2 separate regions of the Homo sapiens genome follow, and region 2 is linked to region 1. Evidence: promoter capture Hi-C in human tissues and cell types (Jung and others, 2019). All regions are on one chromosome and are shown on one strand. The core of a region is centred on a gene start or on the middle of the fragment in contact, and the rest is flanking DNA. Distances in the headings are between cores, read along the strand shown.

Region 1 (3,802 bases), core at 1,303-3,802:
TGATGGCCTCCCATTGGCCCTGGGTGTGTTCCCCACAGACCATCAAGAACATGATGGAAATTGAGAAGGTGAAGGGCTTCTGCCAGGTGGTGGTGGCCAGCAAGGTGCGGGAGGGGCTGGCCCACCTCATCCAGTCCTGTGGCCTGGGAGGCATGCGGCATAACTCCGTGGTGCTGGGCTGGCCCTACGGCTGGCGACAGAGCGAGGACCCCCGTGCCTGGAAGACCTTCATTGGTGTGTGAAGGCCTGGGGCCTGGTGGGCAGGGGTGAAGTGAGGTGGCAGTGGGCGGAGGGCCACAGACTGGTGGTCAGCCGTGCTCCTCCTCCCCAGACACCGTGCGCTGCACTACGGCTGCCCACCTGGCCCTGCTCGTGCCCAAGAACATCGCCTTCTACCCCAGCAACCACGAGCGCTACCTGGAGGGCCACATAGACGTGTGGTGGATCGTGCACGATGGTGGCATGCTCATGCTTCTGCCCTTCCTGCTGCGCCAGCATAAGGTAGACCAGGGGGTGGGTGCAGATGAGAGGGGCTAGGCCCTTGGAGGAGCAGCTGTGACCAAACCGCCCACCTGGTCCCTTGCCTCAGGTCTGGAGGAAGTGCCGGATGCGCATCTTCACAGTGGCCCAGATGGATGACAACAGCATCCAGATGAAGAAGGACCTGGCTGTCTTTCTGTACCATCTGCGCCTTGAGGCCGAGGTGGAGGTGGTGGAGATGGTGAGCCCTCTGCCCTGCCCTGGCCCCGTGGATACCATGTCCCGTGCAGCTGGGTCCTCACGGCCAACCCTGTCCCCAGCATAACAGTGACATCTCTGCATACACCTACGAGCGGACGCTGATGATGGAGCAGCGGTCGCAGATGCTGCGGCAGATGAGACTGACCAAGACTGAGCGGGAGCGAGAAGTCAGTGCCCTTTGTGGTTCACGCCAGGGCGGGTGGCAGGGTCAGGCCTTTGGAGACCGCATCGGTGGGTGCGGAGGAATCAGAATGACTCACCGCAGCCCTACCCAAGCTAGTGCTCATTTCCCGGAGGCAAGGTGGTCACATTGGGCCAGACAGGCCCCATCCCCCTTTTCCTATGGGACCAAGGCTATCTCCTGCAATTGTCCTCAGGCCCAGCTGGTCAAGGATCGGCACTCGGCCCTGCGGCTGGAGAGCCTGTACTCGGACGAGGAAGATGAGTCTGCAGTGGGGGCTGACAAGATCCAGATGACGTGGACCAGGGACAAGTACATGACTGAGACCTGGGACCCCAGCCATGCCCCTGACAATTTCCGGGAGCTGGTGCACATTAAGCCGTGAGTGCAGCAAAAACAGCCCCAGCGGCACTGGAATCTAGGGGTGGAGGTGGGGTGGGGCAGACAAGTAGTGTTAGATGGGCCAGGGGTGGGGACCCTCCTTGCAGGATGGCTCATGGCGACCTGTGACTGGCTACACTACGTGTAGGGACCAATCCAATGTGCGGCGCATGCACACTGCTGTGAAGCTCAATGAAGTCATTGTCACGCGCTCCCACGACGCCCGCCTGGTTCTCCTAAACATGCCTGGCCCACCCAGGAACAGTGAGGGCGACGAGAACTGTATCCCTTTGTGGAGAGGCAGGCAGTTGGGAGGTGGATAGCATGGGAGGTCAAGCCAGCGGCTTCTCTCCTGGGCACCCCTGGGTGGGCATGGCCCAGGTGGCCCGGGTTGCCCGTTGATTCTGTTGTTGCCTCCTTGACTTGAGGCCCTGCAGACATGGAGTTCCTCGAGGTGCTGACCGAGGGCCTTGAGCGGGTGCTGTTGGTGCGCGGTGGTGGCCGTGAAGTCATCACCATCTACTCCTGAGCCCAGTGTCATCTTGTGGCCTGGAGTCGAGGTCTTGGCCAGGACATAACAAGCTGTGGTCTGGGGTAACAGCCTCTTCCCAGCACCCACCTGCCAGCCCTGCTTGCCTGGCCCTGTCCTGGACCCAGCTTTGCTAGGTCTCCTTGGAAACCAGGCCTGGGCCTCAAAATGGAGATGGATCCCAGGTCTTGTGGGACCCTGGGATGTTTGGGGACTTTACTATCTAGCACCCCAGTAGGCCTGTCCTGGCCAGAGAAGACTGGTAGGGGCCGAGTGGGGTTTGAAGGCAGCCGGCCCGGCCCAGCCCAGGAGCGCTATTTATTGCATATTTATTGTTTGGATGTCACCATCAGAGACGAAGGGAAGGGTAGCCAGGGAGGGAGTCCAGCCCAGCTGCCTGCAGGAAGATCTGGCTCAGTCTACTATGGGCAGGGCCCCCCACCAAGCTGAGCCGAATGGAGACAGCTGAGCTGAGGCCTGACTTTTTCAATAAAACATTGTGTAGTTCTGGGCCTCCTGCTGCCCCGGCTCTGTTTCCCCTGGCGCCAAGAGAAGAAGGCGGAACTGAACCCAGGCCCAGAGCCGGCTCCCTGAGGCTGTGCCCCTTTCCGGCAATCTCTGGCCACAACCCCCACTGGCCAGGCCGTCCCTCCCACTGGCCCTAGGGCCCCTCCCACTCCCACACCAGATAAGGACAGCCCAGTGCCGCTTTCTCTGGCAGTAGGCACCAGGGCTGGAATGGGGCCGCCCGGCTCCCCATGGCAGTGGGTGACGCTGCTGCTGGGGCTGCTGCTCCCTCCTGCCGCCCCCTTCTGGCTCCTCAATGTGCTCTTCCCCCCGCACACCACGCCCAAGGCTGAGCTCAGTAACCACACACGGCCCGTCATCCTCGGTAAGCCCCCACCAGGCCCCTGATGCACCACGCCAGACCCTGGGGAGCCTGGGCCCCAGCCCCTGGCAGCTGACCTGGCCAAAGCCCTTCTGCCCTGCATAAGCCCCGACATAAGTACCTGCCCTGGTGTGGGGAGGGGCCAAAAGCTTGTCCCTTAGAGGAATGACGTCCCTTCTCCCACCACACTGTGACTCTCAGTTGTCTAACCCAGGGGGGGCGGAGTGGGGGACGGGGTGTGCCTGAGGTCTTGGCTGGGGCATCACAAGCTGTGGTCAGTCACAGCCACACCAGACTCTGGGCCAAGCCCCACCACTCCTTCCTTGGCCCCCACCCACCAAGGACAAGATGCCCAGCCCAGGATCGGTGAGCAGGAGAGGCCCATCCATGCCCGGCCCCTATTAGGCCCAGCCCCCATGCCCCCAGACCTATCTGTTCCCACCTTGGACTTTGGCAATAAAGGAGCGCCAGACTGGGTGTTTGCTCTGCAGAGGCAGGGGTCAGCGGCCTTGGCCTCAGCACCTCAGCGCCTTCCCTTCCTCAGGGAAGCCTGGGCTTTGGCTACTGGGGGGACAGCAGGGAGAGGGGGTGTAAGCAGGGGAGGGTAAGTGTGCTTTGTACCTGGGGGTTGAGGGTATGGGAGGTGGGGGGTGGGTCTGGTCACTGCAGCATCTGGGGTGACGGGGGTAAGGGTCACGGGGGGAATCCAGAGTCCAGAGTGAGGGCTGCTGCTCACAGTGCCCGGCTGCCTGGGGAATCAGCTAGAAGCCAAGCTGGACAAACCAGATGTGGTGAACTGGATGTGCTACCGCAAGACAGAGGACTTCTTCACCATCTGGCTGGATCTCAACATGTTCCTACCCCTTGGGGTAGACTGCTGGATCGATAACACCAGGTACAGCCATGTGCTCCACCCTAGCCCCAACACGCTGCCCCTTGGCTACTGGCTGCTGAGTGGCACCCCCGCCCCGCAGGGTTGTCTACAACCGGAGCTCTGGGCTCGTGTCCAACGCCCCTGGTGTCCAGATCCGCGTCCCTGGCTTTGGCAAGACCTACTCTGTGGAGTACCTGGACAGCAGCA
Region 2 (4,264 bases), core at 758-3,257, 1.4 Mb before region 1:
GATTATGGTGATGGTCACACAACCATGAATATACTAAAAGCACTGAATTATACACTTTAAATGGGTGAGTTGCGCTGGGCACAGTGGCTCACATCTGTAATCCCAGCACTTTGGGCGGCCGAGGTGGGCAGATCACACTTGAAGTCAGGAGTTCGAAACCAGCCTGGCCAACATGGTGAAACCCCGTCTCTACTAAAAATACAAAAAAATATTAGCTGGGTGTGATGGGAGGTGCCTGTAATCCCAGCTACTTGGGAGGCTGAGGCAGGAGAATCACTTGAACCCAGGAGGCGGAGGCCGCAATGAGTTGAGATTGTGCCACTGCACTCCAGCCTGGGTGACAGAATGAGACTGTCTCAAAAAAAAAAATTAATAAAAACAAAAATATATAACGGGTGAGTTATATGGTAAGCACGCAAGTTATACCTTAATAAAGCTGTGTTTAGGCCAGACCCGTGGCTCACACCTGTAATCCCAGCACTCTGGGAGGCCGAAGTGGGCAGATCATCTGAGGTCGGGAGTTCGAGACCAGCCTGGCCAACACGGTGAAACCCGGTCTCTACTAAAAATACAAAAATTAGCCGGGCGTGGTTGCGGGTGCCCGTAATCCCAGCTACTCAGGAGGCTGAGGCAGGAGAATCGCTTGAACCTGAGAGGCAGAGGCTGCAGTGAGCCAAGATCACACCACTGCACTCCAGTCTGGGTGACAGAGTGAGACTCCATCTCAAAAAAATAAATAAATAAAATTTAAAAATAAATAAATACACCTGTGTTTGAAACTGAAAAACATTCTCGGTTCACGGGCCATAAAAAACCTGCCTGGGCAGACGGGATCTGCGGCTTCTGCTGGTGGTACGGTGGGATCTGGCTATGGACTCTTAATTCCTAACCTGGTACCCCAACTCATTCCATGTCTGCTCCTACTTCTGCCCTCCTCCACCTCCAGGTCTCTGAATGCTACTGGAACTCTGATGTCCCTTCTTCCATGAAGTCTTGCCTAACTCTCCCAGGCACTTTGTTGGCTGTCACTTAATGGACACCTACTATGTGCCAGACATACAAGAATGCTTTACCGTAATTATTCAATTTAAAGCTATCATCACAACAACCTAGAGGGCATTACCCCATTTTACAGACCAGGAAACTCGAGACCCGAAGATGAAAAAAAAAAACTAGCCCAAGGTCACTTGCTGGTGAGTGGCAGAGCTGAGATTCAAACCCCGGAATGAGGCCTGAGCATGTTGATCTCTTCTGGCCCCGCAGGACTGACAGCACCTAGAGGGTGGGTCAGTTGTTCACCCAGGTGGCGCCATCCCAGCACCACCCTGCAGGATCTAGGGAATGAATGAAGGGTCGCTGGCCGAGAAGAGGAAGTCGAAGATTGGGGAAGGGGCCGGGGCTTGTTCGAAGTGAGGTCGAGGGACTTCCAGGACCCGGGACAGGAGAGGAGGGAGCGAGACAGGAGAGGAGGGAGCGAGCATCGCTGTCTGAACGCCCAGCCGGACCCCGGGCCGAGCTTCCTGAGGGTGCCTGTGCGGCTCGGGTGAGGCTGATCCCCACGGCGGTACCGGGGCGCCGGCTACACGAAGCGGCCCTGGGGCTGGGCCAGCCGGGCAGGGCCGGAAGGCCTGAGGGTGGAGATGCCACCCGGCTCCGAGCGCGTGGAAACAGACACGGGCGGAAGCGGCGAGGGGGCGGCCGGAGCGGGGTCGCGAGGCCGGGGCTGGGAGGCGCCCACCTGACCACCCGCCCGCCGCCCGGCTCTGCGGCCCGCAGGCCCCGCTGCCTTCGGCCTCCGAAGTCGGGCCGGGCCGCACGAAGTACCTGGAGGGTTGACGTTGTCATTTCATCTCCTGGGTCCGCCCCACACCCCGCGGCGCTGCTTGCGGCCTCGGTCCGGCCCCGGGGAGCCGAGGTACTGGGTCCGGCGCGGGAAGCCCGGCGGTGGGCGCTGAGCGCGGTGCGCGGGCAGGGCGGCCGCTCGCAGCGGGAGCCGAGTCCGAGGGCAAGCGAGGAGCGCAGCCCAGAGCGGTCGGGCCCGAGCCGAGCGGCTGCCCCCTAGCGTCCACGGCTCGCACTGCAGGCACCTCTCCCTGCCTCGGCGAAGGCAGGGGGCGGTTCGAGAGGCAGGACTGACTGGGGACGAGGAGGTGGGACTAGGGCGAGACGGACAGGGGGCGGGGACGGGGTGGGTGGGACAAGGCCGGGGCGGGGCCTGGCGGGACGTACATTCTCGGGGCGGGGCCAGGGGCGGAGCGGGGTAGAATCCGGAAATCCTGACCTCGCTTGGAATAACAGCGCCCATTGAGCAGTTTTATTCTCACAATAAAACGAACTTATCAGAGCGTTGGTTTCTCCATGTTTAATATCGCACGATCATAATTAGTACCTGCCTTGTCTGGCTTTTGTGGGGAATAAATGAGCTAGCTAATGTAAACAGAGTGTGCCCCACACTGGGGCTCAATCCCTGGTGGGATGCCGCTGACTGTTCAAAGCCAGTTTTGTTTTGCTTGGATTGATTGACTGATTGATTGATACGGAGTCTTGCTCTGTCGCCTAGGCTGGAGTGCAGTGGCATGATCTCGGCTCATTGCGACCTCCGCCTCCCGGGTTCAAGCGATTCTCCTGCTTCAGCCTCCCGAGTAGCTGGGATTACAGGCATGCACACCTACTGTGTGCAGCGTTGTGTGCTAGTTTCTGGGGATACAATGATCAAAGCAGTTCTAGGGCTGGGTGTACTGGCCCACGCCTGTAATTCCAGCACTTTGGGAGGCCAAGGCAGGAGGATTGCTTGAGCCGAGGATCAAGACCAGCTTGGGCAACATAGTAAGACCTCGTCGCTAAATTAAGAAACAAAACAAAACAAACAAACAAAAAAACGCACCAGAGGCAAGTGATCCATTTGTCCACAAGTCTATCCTGTGAGAGAAAAAAAATGGAGGGCAAAAAACATCCAAGTTGAGGCTGGGTATGGGGGCTCATGCCTGTAATCCCAACACTTTGGGAAGCCGAGGCAGGCCGATTGCTTGGGCCGAGGAATTCGAGAACAGCCTCGGCAACAGGTGAACCCCCATCGCTACAAAAAATAAAAAACGTATCTGGGCATGGTGGCGCACACCTGTAGTCCCAGCTACTCCGTAAGCTGAGTTGGGAGAATTGCTGGAGCCTGGGAGGTCGAGGCTGTAGTGAGCCGTGACCAGGCCATTGTACTCCACCCTGGGAAATGAAGCAAGACCCTGCCTCCAAAAAAAAAAAAAAAAAAAAAAAAAAAAAAAAAAAAAAAAAACCAAAAAATTGGCACACCTTAATCTCTCTTCACAAAATGCTAATTAAATACAAAGGAGAGGCCGGGCGCGGTGGCTCACGCCTATAATCCCAGTACTTTGGGAGGCCGAGGCAGGTGGATCACTTGAGGTCAGGAGTTCAAGACCAGCCTGGCCAACATGGTGAAACCCTGTCTCTACTAAAAATACAAAATATTCGCCGGCCATGGTGGTGGGCACCTGTAATCCCAGCTACTTGGGAGGCTGAGACAGGAGAATCGCTTGAACCTGGGAGGCGGAGGTTGCAGTGAGCCAAGACCACGCCATTGCACTCCAGCCTGGGCGACAAGAGCGGAACTCCATCTCTAAATAAATAAATAAATACAAAGGAGAAAACAATGAGGACATTAGCTTGACTACGCGACCGAAGGGAACACCCCTGGTGGTGGGATGCGTGGCCCTCGTGTGTCTCTCCACATGATACCCTGAAGAGAGCATGGCATCGTGGCATCTCTGCCAAGAGTGTGTGACACAGCCTGGTTGTGAGGCAACACCGAATAGAGCCAGCTGGAGAGCTGTGCTGAACAATCAAAGCCTTGTGCTGAGACTCAGGCACATGCGAATTAGAGTAAGGCCGAGGAACATTCCAGACTGAAGAACTGAGACACGACGACAAAAGGCAAGAAAGTGGTATTGGCCAGGATCCAAGGCCAGAGAGGAAAACAGGACATGGCCGGGATGGCTGGCATCATTTGAATGGGGTCTATGGAATGAGTGGTGGTGTGCCAATGTTGATTTCTTGATTAGGAGGACTTTATGGTGGCAATGCAAGGACTGTCCTTATGTTTTGGAGGTCCTCACTAGAGAATTTAAGGGTGCTAGAGAATCATATTAGAGAAAGACAAGGTAATGGAATAAATATGGCAAAATGTTAACAACTGGAAGGTTTGGGTGAAGAAGATTTGTATTGTTTTTGTAACTTTCCTGTAGGTTCAAAACTA

The links. The method cuts DNA at HindIII sites, captures the fragments that hold promoters and counts their contacts. A contact is called where the count stands out against the background at its distance.
Region 2: the fragment with the promoter of VPS4A here is called in contact with the fragment with the promoter of LCAT in region 1 in 1 of the 25 tissues and cell types used here (dorsolateral prefrontal cortex).

What each region holds. Positions count from the first base shown.
Region 1 is chr16:67,942,870-67,946,671 of GRCh38, reverse strand. It overlaps LCAT (lecithin-cholesterol acyltransferase), which reads left to right and starts at 2,552. Exons shown (of 6, transcript NM_000229.2): 1 at 2,552-2,724; 2 at 3,460-3,616; 3 at 3,696-3,802. The coding sequence starts at 2,571. It overlaps SLC12A4 (solute carrier family 12 member 4), which reads left to right. Exons shown (of 24, transcript NM_005072.5): 18 at 39-234; 19 at 332-501; 20 at 590-721; 21 at 801-908; 22 at 1,119-1,303; 23 at 1,452-1,585; 24 at 1,741-3,198. The coding sequence ends at 1,832. RefSeq lists an enhancer at 3,421-3,802. The HindIII fragment of the contact is 35,269 bases long and covers 1-3,802 here.
Region 2 is chr16:69,309,093-69,313,356 of GRCh38, reverse strand. It overlaps VPS4A (vacuolar protein sorting 4 homolog A), which reads right to left and starts at 2,007. Exons shown (of 11, transcript NM_013245.3): 1 at 1,825-2,007. The coding sequence starts at 1,845. RefSeq lists silencers at 1,543-2,092, 2,153-2,292 and enhancers at 1,235-2,184, 2,185-3,135. The HindIII fragment of the contact is 10,929 bases long and covers 1-4,264 here.